Regions from separate parts of the Homo sapiens genome. Here regions 1, 2, 4 and 5 are each linked to region 3. Evidence: promoter capture Hi-C in human tissues and cell types (Jung and others, 2019). All regions are on one chromosome and are shown on one strand. Each heading gives the region's core, a stretch centred on a gene start or on the middle of the fragment in contact. The rest is flanking DNA. Distances are from core to core; before and after follow the strand shown. Region 1 overlaps ATRN (attractin). Region 2 overlaps ATRN (attractin). Region 3 holds the start of SIGLEC1 (sialic acid binding Ig like lectin 1). Region 4 overlaps RNF24 (ring finger protein 24). Region 5 holds the start of PANK2 (pantothenate kinase 2).

Region 1 (2,700 bases), core at 187-2,686, 200 kb after region 3:
CAACTGACAGAATGAAACACAAACAGTAGATTAAAGCATTGTACAATGTCAAATATATTGAAGGTAAAAACTGTACCTTAAGACTCTTAAGACTATCACTATTCTCAGAAAATACATACTAAAGTATTTTGGGTCAAGAGCCACGATATATATAGTTTACCCTTGAAAGGTTCAGAGGGAAAAATTATGTATACACACACATATCTGTGTATGTGTGCTTATGTGGAGGGAGGGGTGAGGAATGATAAAGCAAATGTAGTGAGATGTTAACAATGAATTTGGGTAGAATACAAAGTTGTGCTTTGCACTGTTTTTATTCTTGCACTTTTCTGTGAGCTTAAAATTATTTACAAATAAAAAATTTGTGGCTGGGCGTGGTGGCTCACACCTGTAATCTCAGCACTTTGGGAGGCCAAGGCAGGTGGATAGCTTGAGGTCAGGAGGTCAAGACCAGCCTGGCCAACGTGGCAAAACCCCACCTCTACTAAAAATACAAAAATTAGCCGGGCATGGTGGTGCACACCTGTGGTCCCAGCTACTCGGGAGGCTGAGGCTGAGGCAGACGAATCACTTGAACCTAGGGGCTGGAGGTTGCAGTGAGCCGAGATCACACCACTGCACTCCAGCCTGGGCGACAGAGCAAGACTCCTGTCTCCAAAAAAAAAAAAAAAATTGTTAACATGTACCTCTGACATCTTTCACTTTATATAACATAAGGTTACATTATTAGGTACACACACATTTAGAATCATTTTTTCTGGTAGACTGTGCTTTCATCATTATGAAACGTTACTATTTTGCCTCTAGCAATCCTTCTTAAGTCTATTTTGTCAGATATAGACATAAACCAGCTGTCTGTGGGTTAAGAGTGTGATATACCTTTTTCTCTATCCTTTTGCTTTCAATATTTGACTCATTACAGTTAAGTACAGTTTTGTATCATAGTTCATTGGTTTTCCTAAACCCACTTAGACAAATCTGTCATTGAACTGGTATCTTGAGTCAGTTTTCATTCCAGTGCTGACATAACTGGCATTAAATCTACTGTCTCGCTATTTGTTTTCTATCTGCCTACTTACTCTATGTTCCTTTTCCTATCTTGTTTTACCTTTTTTTGGATTAAATATTCTTATTATTCCATTTTTTTCTTTATAAACTATTATGTTATGCATCCTTTTACTATTTACTTTTATTTTGCTATTACCTTTACTTTTACTACTATTAGTGATTACCCTAGAAATTATAACTTGCATCCCTGATTTATCAAGGCCTAATATAAATTAGTACTTATACCATTTCCTGGGCAATTCAAGGACCTTAAGCTTCACTTCTTCCATCCACCTATACCAGCTGCTTGTGCTTTGTTGGTGTATATTTCAATTCTATATTCTAAATCCCAGAGGACATTATTATTGCATACAATTAACATTCAGTTAAGTTTACCCACACTTTATTCTTTCCACTGCTCCTCATTCCTCTTAGAATCTCTGTATTTCCTTCTGCAGTCATTCTCCTCTGCTTACGGAACTCCCTTTACTGTAAGGCTGCCGGTGATTAATCCCCTCTGTATTTGTTCATCTGAAAATATCTTTAGTTCTTCATTTTTGAAGTATATTTTCTACTGGATATAGAAGGGTAGGGAACTACAGCCCGTGGACTAGTAGCCTGTTTCTGTAAGTAAGGTTTTATTGGAACACAGCCATGCCCATTCGCTTATGATTGTTTATGACTGCTTTCATGCAACAATGCAGAATAGCTGTGGCAGAGATCTTACATGGCCCAGGAGTCTAAGATATATACTACCTGGCCCTTTAAAAAGAAAGTTTGTCAACTCTTGGTATACAATTCTATGCTGGCATTTATTTTCTTTTCTGCACTTTAAAACTGTCATTCCATTGTTTGGGTTTCCATTGTTTATAATAAGAAGGTAGTTTTCAGTCTTGTCCTTGCTTTTTTTTTTTTAATAAGAAAATAAATTTTTAAAACTGAGACAAGGTCTCACTATGTTACCAGGCTGGTCTCAAAACTCCTGGGCTCAAGGAATCATCCCGCCTCAGCCTCCCAAAGTACTGGGATTACAGGTATGAGCCATCACGCCCAGCCTTTTTCTTGCTTGTGTAAAGATAATGTGTCTCAATCCACTGGTTGCTTTAAGATTTTTAACTTTCACCAGGCGCGGTGGCTCATGTCTGTAATCCTAGCACTTTGGGAGGCCGAGACGGGTGGATCACGAGGTCAAGAGATCGAGACCATCCTGGCCAACATGGTGAAACCCCGTTTCGCTAAAACTAATTTTCGTATTTCACTAAAAATACAAAAATTAGCTGAGCGTGGTGGCGCGCCTGTAGTCCCAGCTATTCAGGAAGCTGAGGCAGGAGAATTGCTTGAACCTGGGAGGTGGAGGTTGCAGTGAGCCGAGATCCAGCCTGGCAACAGAGCAAGACTCTGTCTCAAAAAAAAAAAAAAAAAAAAAAATATTTTTAACTTTGTCTTTGGTTGTTAGCAAAAATGCTGAGTATGCTTTTCCTTCCTCATCCTGTTTGGTGTTTGTTGCATTTCCTGAATTGGCAGCTTTAAGCATCTTATCACTTTGTGAACATTCTAGGACATTATCTCATTAAGTATTGCTTCTGCTCCACTCTTTTTTTCTCCTTTTGGAGTTCTAATTACAACTGTGTCCCACATCATTCAAACTCTTTT
Region 2 (2,700 bases), core at 127-2,626, 130 kb after region 3:
GATTCAGAATTCTGAAAGGCTGCTGGGCAGCTCCCCTAGAGAAGTTTAGAAATCAATATTTAGAAATCTACAATGCTATGAATTCTCTCCTATACCTCTGTAATTCCTCAGACAAATTACTTTCCCAAAATTGGACACAATGCAAATGGAGTCCAGCCTCCCAAAATAATCCACAATTCCACCGACTGCTTGTGAGTCCCTCTGCAGGAGGAGGAGGCTTATTTTGAGTTGTCTTCATGCTGCAGCAGCTACCCCTGGGCCTGCCTTTAGTTAGCCAAAATGTAGCCCAGAGAGACTGAAAGCTGGGAAGCTACTCCGAGTGTCTGTCTGCTCAGTACTCTCCTGCAGCTCTCGCGTAGTTCTGGGTTGCTTCTGTCCTCGCTTACAGAACTGCTCTCATCATTTTTCTCCCTGTTGACACTACCTTTCTGAACACTGTCCCTGCAGTCACTTGCTTGCTTTACTAATCTTTTCTTTGTTTTTATTTTCCTTTTTTGTTTCTTCTTCCACAGCATTTCTCTGCCAACACCAATAAATTTGCTTTTCAGAGCAATTCTCAATACTTTTTCTGGTCAATAAACCTATCAATCTCATTGTTAATTAGAATATCAGTTTCTTCGAGTAGTGTTAGTTATTTTTAGTTTTGCTTATAATTAAAACTATTCAGGGTCCCAGAATATTTCCTTCTGCTTCTGAAATCTGGGTTATACTCTTCTTTGCATGCTTGAAATCAATACTTCATCTGTTTTCATGACTACTTCACACATCTCAGCAATGAACTATGCCTCCTATGGTTTCTCTCACAATAAACTCTGAATACCACCTAATTCACCTGTGAACTTACCAGGCCTTTCACAGACACTACCATTGAGTGGGTTGATGCAGGTTGCAGCCTTCAGTCCCCGAGTACTGGGTTCTGATAAAATTCCACAGAATCCAGCATCACTGGGCTCAGACGGCATCCACTGTAGTAAACTATTTGTAAATGGGGACATATCTTCCCAGCACCAGTAGGACACATTGATCTTCCGAAGGCCGACCCATGGGGTTAAGGTGAGCTTGGACTAAAGGCAAAAGAGACACAACTATGAATACAGATAGTATCTTTTTTTAATTTAAATTTTGGAGATGGAGTCTTGCCATGTTGCCCTGGCTAGTTTCAAACTCCTGAGCTCAAGTGATCCTCCCACCTTGGCCTCCCAAAATGTTGAGATTATAGGCATGAGCCACCATGCCTGGCCTGAATATAACCAACATCTTGACCAAAACAAGCTTCTAGATAAAAACCACCAAGTTAAGTATACCCCACAGACATAGGAAAACCTCTTTATCCCTTGACTCAGCCATGGTAGATTAGGATAGATCATCACTTCAATATGGCCATTTTATAAAGGATAAAAATGTAGCTCAGAGAAGATAATATATCAAAAATTCACAGAAATTATAGCAAAGCAATATTTAAGTTCTGAAATGTCTATATGAAGAGATGGCTACCCCCAAACACAGGCTGAGTATCCCTAATCTGAAATCCAAAACACTCCAAAATCTAAAACTTTTTGAGTGCCAACATGATGGATGCTGAAGGAAAATGTTCACTAGAGCATTTTGGATTTCCAGATTAGGGATGCTTAACTGGTTAGTATAATGCAAATATTCTAAAATTCGAAACACTCCTCGTCCAAAGCATTTTAGATAAGGGATATTCAACTTATACCACATTTGCTTTATCCATTCATCCATCCTGGCACTGGATTTTATAGGGAATAATAGGACAGTGACACCTGGGACAGTCTGTCTTCTGCTCTCCTGAAATTTCCTTCTCATTGCAATTTTTAACAAGTTTTAAAAATCAAAATATAAAGTTTAGCCAAGAAATGGTAAGTATTCCTAATTTTGGTAGTTATAAAACAAAAGATATACTGTATTTCCCTCCCTTTGCTTTCTTTTGAGACAGGGTCTCGCTCTGTTGCCCATGCTGGAGTGCAGGGACATGATCATGGCTCACTACAGCCTCAAACCCCTGGGCTCAAGCAACCCTCTTGCCTCAGCCTCCCAAGTAGCCGGAACTACAAGTATGTGCCACCATCATGCCCGGCTAATTCTTTAAAAAAACTTCCTTTGTAGAGACGAGGTCTCCCTGTGTTGCCCAGGCTAGTCTTGAACTCCTGGGCTCAAGCAATCCTCCCTCACTGGCCTCCCAAAATGCTGGGATTACAGGCAGGAGCCACCACACCCAGCCTATTTCCATTTTTGAGAGGAAAAAATACACATGCCTACTAAAAGACCTAAAAATAAACAGATCCAAAAGAAAGAAAGACAATTAAAAATACTTTTTAAAGGCCCTTCAATAATTTCTTTGCCTTCACGATACAATTCAAATCCATTACTATTGTAGCCATGGCCTCGCAGGGTCTGGCCTTGGTTCCTTCCTGAGGCTCAACTATAAAAATCCCCTCCCATCCAGCCTGCAGCCAACCATGCAAACTTACCTGCAGCTCACTCAAAGAGCCACTCCCTTAATCATCTCCCTCTACATCTCACAGATGGGGGCACTAATTAAATCACAGAAAGCCCTTCCGTCTTCGACATCCTAATTCACTCCTTCTCACCTGCAGGGGTCACCTCCTTCCAGCTTTCTACCAGCCAGCCTCTGTCCTAAGGGTTAGGCTAGGTGTCCTTTCTTGTTTTTCCATAAAAATC
Region 3 (2,700 bases), core at 30-2,529:
AGGGAGACTCCGTCTCTACAAAATAACTTAAAAAATTAGCCGTGCATAGTGGCAAGCGCCTGTAATCCCGGCTTCTTAGGAGGCTGAAGCAGGAGGATTGCTTAAGCCTAGAATTTCGAAGCTGCAGTGAGCCAAAGTGAGCCAAGATTGCACCAGGACACCCCAGCCTGGGCGACAGAGCAAGACACTGTCTCAAAAAACAAAAACAAACAAACAAACAAAAACCAAAAAAAGTCTTGTTGCTTGTATCTGGGATTGCTTGGAGCAATTAACATCTGCTTCACATGTCAAGTGCCTGCACAAACTAGGCCCTCAATAAGATGGGCTGCAGTAATGTAACAGTAACTAGCTGTGGTGGGGGCTTTCCTTTCCTGTCCCAAGGTGGGGGTGAAGGTATAGGATAGTGGCCGGGTGCAGCGGCTCACCTCTGTAATCCCAGAACTTTGGGAGGCCGAGGCAGGCAGATTACTTGGGGTCAGGAGTTCAAGACCAACCTGGACAACATGGTGAAACCCCGTCTCTACCAAAAATACAAAAATTAGCCGGATGTGGTGGTGCATGCCTGTAATCCCAGCTACTCGAGAGGCTGAGGCAAGATGATCACTTGAACTCGGGAGGTGGAGGTTGCCGTGAGCTGAGATTGTGCCACCGCACTCCAGCCTGGACGACAGAGTGAGACTCCATCTCAAAAGCAAAAACAAAACAAAAAGAAAAAAACCAACAACAAGAAGCCAAAAACCAAAAAACGTACAGGACAGTGAGAGGGGAAAGAGAAAACCTGAGGAGTGTCCTGGACATTGGGGCCTTATGTCCCCCACAACACGGGACTGCCTCTTGGGGGTTCTTAAGAGTACTCAGTGGTACAGGGAGGCTCCTGAATGGCTTGGAGAATAACTGCCTTGGTCTGGGCATCGTGTAGTGCATCCCCACCCCAGGCTGGGCGCGCCTCCCTCTCAGGTGTCAGGGAGGAGAGCTGTGTGCAGGAAGCCCCCTTCCACCTCCCCCAGCCTCCCTAAGGGGCTCAGAGAGAGTGGGGTGTGGATTTGGCTGGTGAATGGGAGTCCCCCACTCCATTTCTCACTTTGCCTGGGGAGGCTCCAGCGTTGCAGCGGTCCCACTTCTGCTTGCTGGAGTCCCTAAGTCCCTGGCCTTGCCGAGGGCCTTCCCCTATGGAGGTCTTTCCCGTTTTGGCATTGCGCAAGGCCTGCAGCTGCCTCCCTGACCAGCCTCTGGGTTGGACAGTAGAGCTGAGGCTTTGGGAAAGAGGAAGCAGCCCCTGATACGGGATCCTTCTCTCTTGAGCCGGCAGAGCCCTGGGGAGCCAGCTGCACCAGGAGCTCTTGGCCGTCCTTCCTGTTCTCCTCTCCGCAGGTCCAGCACCGCCGCAGCCACTTCCTTCTGTGGAGCAGGTACCCCTGTCCCTGGTCCCTGGGCCCAGAGGGTGAGTGGAGCATTAGGAGCGGGGCTGGGCTGAAACTGGCTGAGCGGGATAGGGGCAGGGGTCGGGGGGGGGCTCCATCTGGGTGCGAGTGGTGGACCCCAAACCAACCCAAGTCCAAGACACTAATCAAAGATGGACTCAACTGAAACCCTTCCACCACCCCCAAATCCTTCCAACCTGCATCCCAATCCCAGTCCCGACCATCACCCTGCTCTGACCCTACCTCAGCCCCAGCCCCAGCCCCTATTCCAACCTTATCTCACCCTCACCTCACTTGCACCCCAACCCTAACCATTTACTCATCTCATCTAATCCCAACCATCCATCATCCCAACCCTAACCACAACTCCGACTCTATCATCCTCATCTCAACCCAGCCTCCACCGTATCTTAACCATCACCTGCACCCAACTCCAACCTTCACCCTTACCCCCACCCATCACTCAACCTCAATGTCCACCCCAATCCCAGCCTTAATTTGCTTCCAGAATTCCAACCTGATCATCACCCTGACCTCAGCCCCAGCCCAGCCCAACGATAATCTCTCCTTACTCTAACCCCAGCACAATTCCACTTCATCCATCACCACTTCGTCCGTCCACAGGAGGGCTTCTGGTGCTGTCCAGCACAGTTTGGAGAGTGAGCACTCCAGCCAGAAGCATTTAGAGCCAGATTAAGGAATGAAGTGTGAAATTTCTACTGCCCATGTCAAAGCCAATAAGCATTAGTTATGGATTCTATGGCTCTGAGAATTAAACATTTGGCCTGTGATTGGGGATTTCCACTATTTTGACCATAATCTGCTCCAGGAATTGCCCATCCGTACCCTGACTCCCTATCTGTGGGCCAGTAACCTCCAGCTGGCCATGTCACCCTGTGTTCTTCCTTCTCTAGCCCAATGGGGAAGTTGGGGAGAAGCCTTGGTGTCAGGAAACAGAAACTGAATCCTACACCCGGGCCTAGCTGTCCATAGGGAAACTGCCTCTGCCCTTTCTTCCCCAGCTAAACTTGGCCTCTGGAATCAGAGGTCAGGGACTTGGGGCCCCAGCCAACCCTCCAAGACCTCCTGAGGCACTTGGTCTCAAACAGGCAGCAAACGTGAGTGCCCACTGTGTACCAGGCCAGCTCAAGCCACCCTGATGCAACACATACCAATAGTAGGAGTGGGGATTTAAAATCCTGTCTTCAGAGCACCCAAGACTTGGAGACCCAAGTATGAACCTCAGGAACCTCCTGTCTGGGGAACAATGATTTCCAAA
Region 4 (2,700 bases), core at 172-2,671, 250 kb before region 3:
AGCACTCCTTAACTACATCCTTCCTTCCCTTCGTAAGAAGATCTGAATGTAGGAAAAAGGAAATTAAATATGTATTTGAGTAAAAGCACTTGCTCTAACTGAGCCAACCCAGAAAATGGCCAAAGGTTCAAAATTAAATATTACCCATTATTTATGTTTGGAAGCTGTCAGAGAAGAATTTACATGGGATGAAGTTGTTCTTTGCAGGTACTGACTTCCTGATATATGTTACTAGAGACTGGAAACTAATCATAAGATTTAGATTTCAGATACAGCCAGTTAGCATCTCAGTGGTGTCAACAGTATAAATATACTCTTCTGGGAACCTACAAGAAAACTAAAAATCTGTGAACACATTTTTAATTTACCATGCATAAATAAAAGTAGAAGTTTTCTTTGCTTGGTAGAGTTTTGTTTGGGTTTGGATTTGTAGTATTCATAGTTATAATTCCATTGTCAATCTTTGGTCTTAATAAGCAGGCCTGGCAGGAACTCTTTATTTTGTAAGGAATCAAAATGACAAACTACAGCTTATCACTTACAGGAGAGGCATCCTTTATCTGTGGAATTTTAACTGTAGTAATCAGTAAGTATTCTCAAACAAACTGACAGAAATAGTCCTTTTTTTTAATGTTTAAACAACACTTACTGTTTCTGATTATAAAAGTAACACATGAGCAAGGCAGTGGAGCATATGGACTGAGACTGCTGAGTTTGGAGTTGGAGAGGCTCTGGCTGTGTACATACCGGGTCAGTCATGGCCATGGGACCAGAACTGTCTAAGCTTCAGTTTCCTTGTGTATAGAATGGGGAGAAATTGGCCGGGCACAGTGGCTCATGCCTATAATACCAGCACTTTGGGAGGCCAAGTAGGGATGATTGCTTGAGCCCACGAGTTCAAGACCAGCCTAGGCAACATGCTATCTCTACAAAAAAATTTTTAAAAATTAGCTAGGTGTGGTGGCACGCGCCTGTAGTCCTAGCTATTTGGGAGGCTGAAGTGGAAGAATTGCTTGAGCCCGGGAGATTAAGACTGCAGAGAGCTGAGATCACACCATTGCACTCCAGCCTGGGGTGACAGAATGAGACCCTGTCTCAAAAGAAAAAAAAAATTACTTGAAAATGTTTTCATGACCCTTTAATACTATAACATATGACTATATAATTAATCATATTTCCTTGTGAGATATCTCAGTTATTTCTAATATTTTACCATTATAAATATTGTTACTTCAAGGGTTGAGTTATTAGGTTAAAGGCTAAAGAGTTTGAAGAATCTTAAAACTTTTTTTCTTTTTGCACTTCTCTGAGGTTGAACATTTTCATGTTTATTAATTACTGGCATTATTTTAGTGAAATGCCTTTTAGTGAATAAATGCAACTTGCAAAGCTTTTTATATTGGATCTCCAGTCTCTGAAATAGTGCCAGGTACATAATACTCAGTAAATATTTGGCATGGTGAATGAATGAATGAATGGCAAGAATATTAACACTTTGTCTACCATATTTGTTTCAGATGAGGTCATTGTGCCTCTATACGTGCACAATGATAATGCTGTCTTGGTTCTTAGTCTTTACCTATTTTTTTTCCATTCTTTTCTTCCCCCACAGTTCATCCATGAGCTCGGATTTCCCACATTACAACTTCAGGATGCCTAATATTGGATTCCAGAATCTGCCTCTCAACATATATATTGTGGTTTTTGGTACTGCTATATTTGTCTTCATCCTTAGTTTACTCTTCTGTTGCTACTTGATTAGGTAACCAATTTTCATTCTATGTTACTTCAAAATATGTTAAATAATCAATAATCAAGTTTCTGTCCTCAGATTTTTTTTAAAATGAAGTATGATAATTGGCAAATTTTTAAAAAATTAAGATGGCTTACCGTTTTAATCTGTGCATTAGTAATCAGTAAAACACCTTTATATGATCTTCAATCTTATCTACTGATGAAGTGTTTTACTCTGTAGGAGAAAATTGTCCTTATTTATTTTTCTGCCCTTCTACCTGGTAAACAGATACACGTATGTCATTGTCTATCTCCAAGATTTAATCTACTCTCACAGAGATTTCAAAATTGCTTTTCAAGGTGTGGCTTCCTTGTTAGCTAAGGTCATTAGGTATCAGAAAAGTAGGGAAGGCTGGGCGCAGTGGCTCATGCCTGTAATCCCAGCACTTTGGGAGGCCCAGGCGAGTGGATCACCTAAGGTCGGGAGTTCTCGACCAGCCTGGCCAACATGGTGGAACTCCGTCTCTACCAAAAATACAAAAATTAGCTGGGCGTGGTGGCTCATGCCTGTAATCCCAGCTACCTGGGAGGCTGAAGCAGGAAAATCACTGGAACCCAGGAGGTGGAGGTTGCAGTGAGCCAAGATCGTGCCATTGCACTCCAGCCTAGGCAACAGAGCGAGACTCTGTCTCAAAAAATAAAATAATAAAGAAACATAGGGGATGCTCCTTATATCTCATAGATATGTTGACTGCTTATGACTTTTATTTCTTCCTCCAAATTAATTAAATACTTGAGACAAATATAATTGTAATCTACAGAAAAAACCTTTATAAAACCTGTTTATTTCCAGAAATTCCTTTTTCTGACATTTCTATTAAACTATTATTAAAATAATTAGATCAGCCAGGTGCAGTGGCTGACGTCCAAAATCCCAACACTGGGAGGCTGAGGTGGGCGGATTAC
Region 5 (2,700 bases), core at 120-2,619, 180 kb before region 3:
AAGATTCAAAAAAGCAGTTGGGTGACTGGGCTAAGGTAGAAGACTATTCAATAAAAATCTCACATCTTGCCATTTTCCCTCCCTCTCACAATCTGCATTTAAACAAGTCAATTTCCTGAAATAGGAATCTGGCAACACCCACCAAAAAGTCCAACCATATGTAAAATGGCATCACACTGTAAAGCTCATATTACAGTATCAGGACAATTGATACTTTCAACAGCAGCAATGGCTGCCAGGCAGCGGTCCTGAATTGAAGACTTGTAAAGGGGAGAAAATACACAACACAGAAAAAGAAACCTAATAAAATGGGGAAACGGATTCTCTGGGAGGAGCGTATGCAACTCCCAAGGCAAAATTCAGAAAGATGTTGTTTCCCCTCAAAACAAAGAGCCTTAATGCCCAGAATGCCACAGTTCTGAATCGTGAGTACCTGCAAATAGACAGAAGGAAAACGGAGGGGATATGTGGGTGAGAGATGACCTGGATTCTCACGAGAAGAAGGGCAGCCACCTTAGAGGTGCACGGAATACAGTTTCAGGCCTGGTGCAACTCAAGGGGCAGTTCACCATTTTCCAGTAAGCCCGAAATTGACGAATAAAAGGGACTTAAAGTATTAGAGAGCAGCTCTTTGGAAACCCACGGAAAACAAACATTGGGGATTCAAAGGATTTGGGAGGAAAGGAGGTGGAAATGAGTCAAAAGAAGCCTTCTCGAGGATAAAATCATGTGACCCTCAGGAAGAGAATGCCCAAGGAGCTAAGAAAAGGGAGGACAGGTCCTGGGGAAAAGCCCTCCACTCCAACAAGCGGGAAGTGCATACCAATGGGTGCGGGGGGGCCCCCGAAGGTACCGCTTTCGGAGCACCCGAGGCCTCCAGCCGGATGTCAGGCCACGCACCAACGAGGGACCACCGTGCGGGGACAGTGTCCGCGCGCGGGAAAAACGGCGGCGGGGCCGGAAGGGGACAGGGTGGGCCGGAAGGGGGGGCAGGGCGGGCCGGGAGGGCGCCCCACGGAACACTTACGCGGCCGCTTTTTCCTCAGGCTTTCGACGCGCTGGCGGGAGACCGAGGTGGGGCCGCTGTAAGAGCCCAGTCGATCCCGCCTCGTGCCCTCAGCCGAGGCCCCGACCGCGGGCACCGACGCGCTGCTCGCCCGGCGCCGCAGTGGCTCCTGCCGCCGCCCTTCGGGGTCCCCGGCCGCCTGCTCCCCAGCCGACGAGACGGAGGTGGCGGAAGCCCTGCCGTGGCGCTCCATGGGCGCGCCGAGCCGGCCCCCTCCCATCCGCAGCAGCAGTCGCTGCCGCCCGAGCAAGCCCCCCAGCGTCGGATTCCTTCTCGCCTCCTCCGCGGCAGTCCAGCCAGAGCAGAGGCGCGCCCTCGGCCGGCCGCCTCTTCCGTTGCGCCAACGCGCAGGAAGCCAATCCGACGAGGCTGGGGACGGCCCAAAGGCCTCGCGTCCAGTCGGCTCCCTAACTCGAGGAGGATTGACCGTGCCTCCGTCCAATGAGAGGCTATCGTGACGGGGCGGGGAGAGGGTGGTGGAGGAGGGGATCCGGGTTCCGCGGAGGAAGAGAAGGCGGTGTAGCCCAGAAGAGAGTGATGGCGGCGCCGCCCAATGGACGCGTGGGTGGAAGGGCCCGAGCCTCCTCATCCACCCCCTCCTTCCGCCCCCCACTTGTGCATGCCTCTGCCCCCCCGGGCCGCGGAACTCTCCTGGGGCGACCCCGAGTCCCACCCCGCTGCTCCGTGCCGTCCTCGCAGCTCGAGCCCTCCTCCAGCCCAGCAGTGCTCCCGCAGCGTCTGGCCGCTGGTCGTCGGCAGACGAAAGGGCTTGAACCGCGGCTGACCTTAGCCTTTGTCCCTCGGCCTAGTTCCGCAGCTGCCGTCGAGGCCGCCAGCCCCTCCCCCAGCATGTTTGGGCTAAGCCGCCTCCTTTCCGCCTGCGTTGGAGAGAGAGGTACCAGAAGGAATGAAAGGACTGGGGCTTGTCTCCATGGCAACTGAAAGAAAGAGGTGGGTTATAAATCCTTCGCCACCCTCCTGTGGCGAAGGAGGGGAAGTGGGAGCCGGGAAGTAGAGTTGGCCTTTTGCAGGAGAGTCTGGAGCCCCTTTCTGGGTGATGCATTGGGGGCCATAGAAGGATTTGGCTGCCGCTTTGGAGCATGGATTTTTTTTTTAATCATCTTCCTTTCTCTTTTGGAGAGAAAAATTGGTCACCTCCAGGACTGAGACCCTGACCCTTCCAAGCATCCCCACTACCAAAGGCTGCCCAAGCCCGGAAGGATCCCATCCCGTTCTGTACTCTGAGGTCACTTCCTCACTCCGTCAAATTTCACTGGACTGTGGGCTAATTAAAAGTGCCTCCGTATTAGCGGGGCGTGGTGGCCCATGCCTATAATCCCAGCTACTTGGGAAGCTGAGGCAGGAAAATTGCTTGAACCCGGGTGGCGGAGGCTGCAGTGACCCAACATTGTGCAACAAGAGCGAAACTCCGTCTCAAAAAAAATAAAAAATAAAAAAGAGTGCCTCCCTGGGGAGACTGTAATGCCCACTGGGCAGTGATCCTAATGCCCCTTGGGCAGTGATCCTTATTCCCCTCTCCCATAATGATTGGTTGTAGCAGGCTGAACAAAAAGGTTGAGCTTCGCTTGTGCTTGCTGAATAGAATTCTCACGCCCACTCCACGTTAGCTCCCC

What was found. Contacts are between HindIII fragments. The study calls those that stand out against the background at their distance.
Region 1: a contact is called between a fragment that was not itself captured here and the fragment with the promoter of SIGLEC1 in region 3, in 4 of the 25 tissues and cell types used here (IMR-90 fibroblasts, aorta, mesenchymal stem cells and 1 more).
Region 2: a contact is called between a fragment that was not itself captured here and the fragment with the promoter of SIGLEC1 in region 3, in 5 of the 25 tissues and cell types used here (IMR-90 fibroblasts, adrenal gland, dorsolateral prefrontal cortex and 2 more).
Region 4: a fragment that was not itself captured here is called in contact with the fragment with the promoter of SIGLEC1 in region 3 in 1 of the 25 tissues and cell types used here (spleen).
Region 5: the fragment with the promoter of PANK2 here is called in contact with the fragment with the promoter of SIGLEC1 in region 3 in 3 of the 25 tissues and cell types used here (IMR-90 fibroblasts, lymphoblastoid cells and stomach).

The regions. Positions count from the first base shown.
Region 1 is chr20:3,507,470-3,510,169 of GRCh38, reverse strand. All of the region lies in intron 1 of ATRN (attractin), which reads right to left. Among named protein-coding and RNA genes, the nearest start is that of ATRN, 38 kb to the right of the region's middle. The HindIII fragment of the contact is 5,646 bases long and covers 1-2,700 here.
Region 2 is chr20:3,580,499-3,583,198 of GRCh38, reverse strand. ATRN (attractin) reads right to left here. Exons shown (of 29, transcript NM_139321.3): 16 at 845-1,064. Among named protein-coding and RNA genes, the nearest start is that of GFRA4, 82 kb to the left of the region's middle. The HindIII fragment of the contact is 8,776 bases long and covers 1-2,700 here.
Region 3 is chr20:3,711,179-3,713,878 of GRCh38, reverse strand. SIGLEC1 (sialic acid binding Ig like lectin 1) reads left to right here and starts at 1,279. Exons shown (of 22, transcript NM_023068.4): 1 at 1,279-1,409. The HindIII fragment of the contact is 16,568 bases long and covers 1-2,700 here.
Region 4 is chr20:3,962,937-3,965,636 of GRCh38, reverse strand. It overlaps RNF24 (ring finger protein 24), which reads left to right. Exons shown (of 6, transcript NM_001134337.3): 2 at 1,613-1,762. The coding sequence starts at 1,620. Among named protein-coding and RNA genes, the nearest start is that of MIR103B2, 47 kb to the right of the region's middle. The HindIII fragment of the contact is 5,048 bases long and covers 1-2,700 here.
Region 5 is chr20:3,888,056-3,890,755 of GRCh38, reverse strand. It overlaps PANK2 (pantothenate kinase 2), which reads right to left and starts at 1,369. Exons shown (of 7, transcript NM_001386393.1): 1 at 1,028-1,369. The coding sequence starts at 1,325. It overlaps PANK2-AS1 (PANK2 antisense RNA 1), which reads left to right and starts at 1,583. Exons shown (of 2, transcript XR_001754478.3): 1 at 1,583-2,017; 2 at 2,207-2,700. RefSeq lists silencers at 985-1,484, 1,675-1,734 and an enhancer at 1,743-2,294. The HindIII fragment of the contact is 29,664 bases long and covers 1-2,700 here.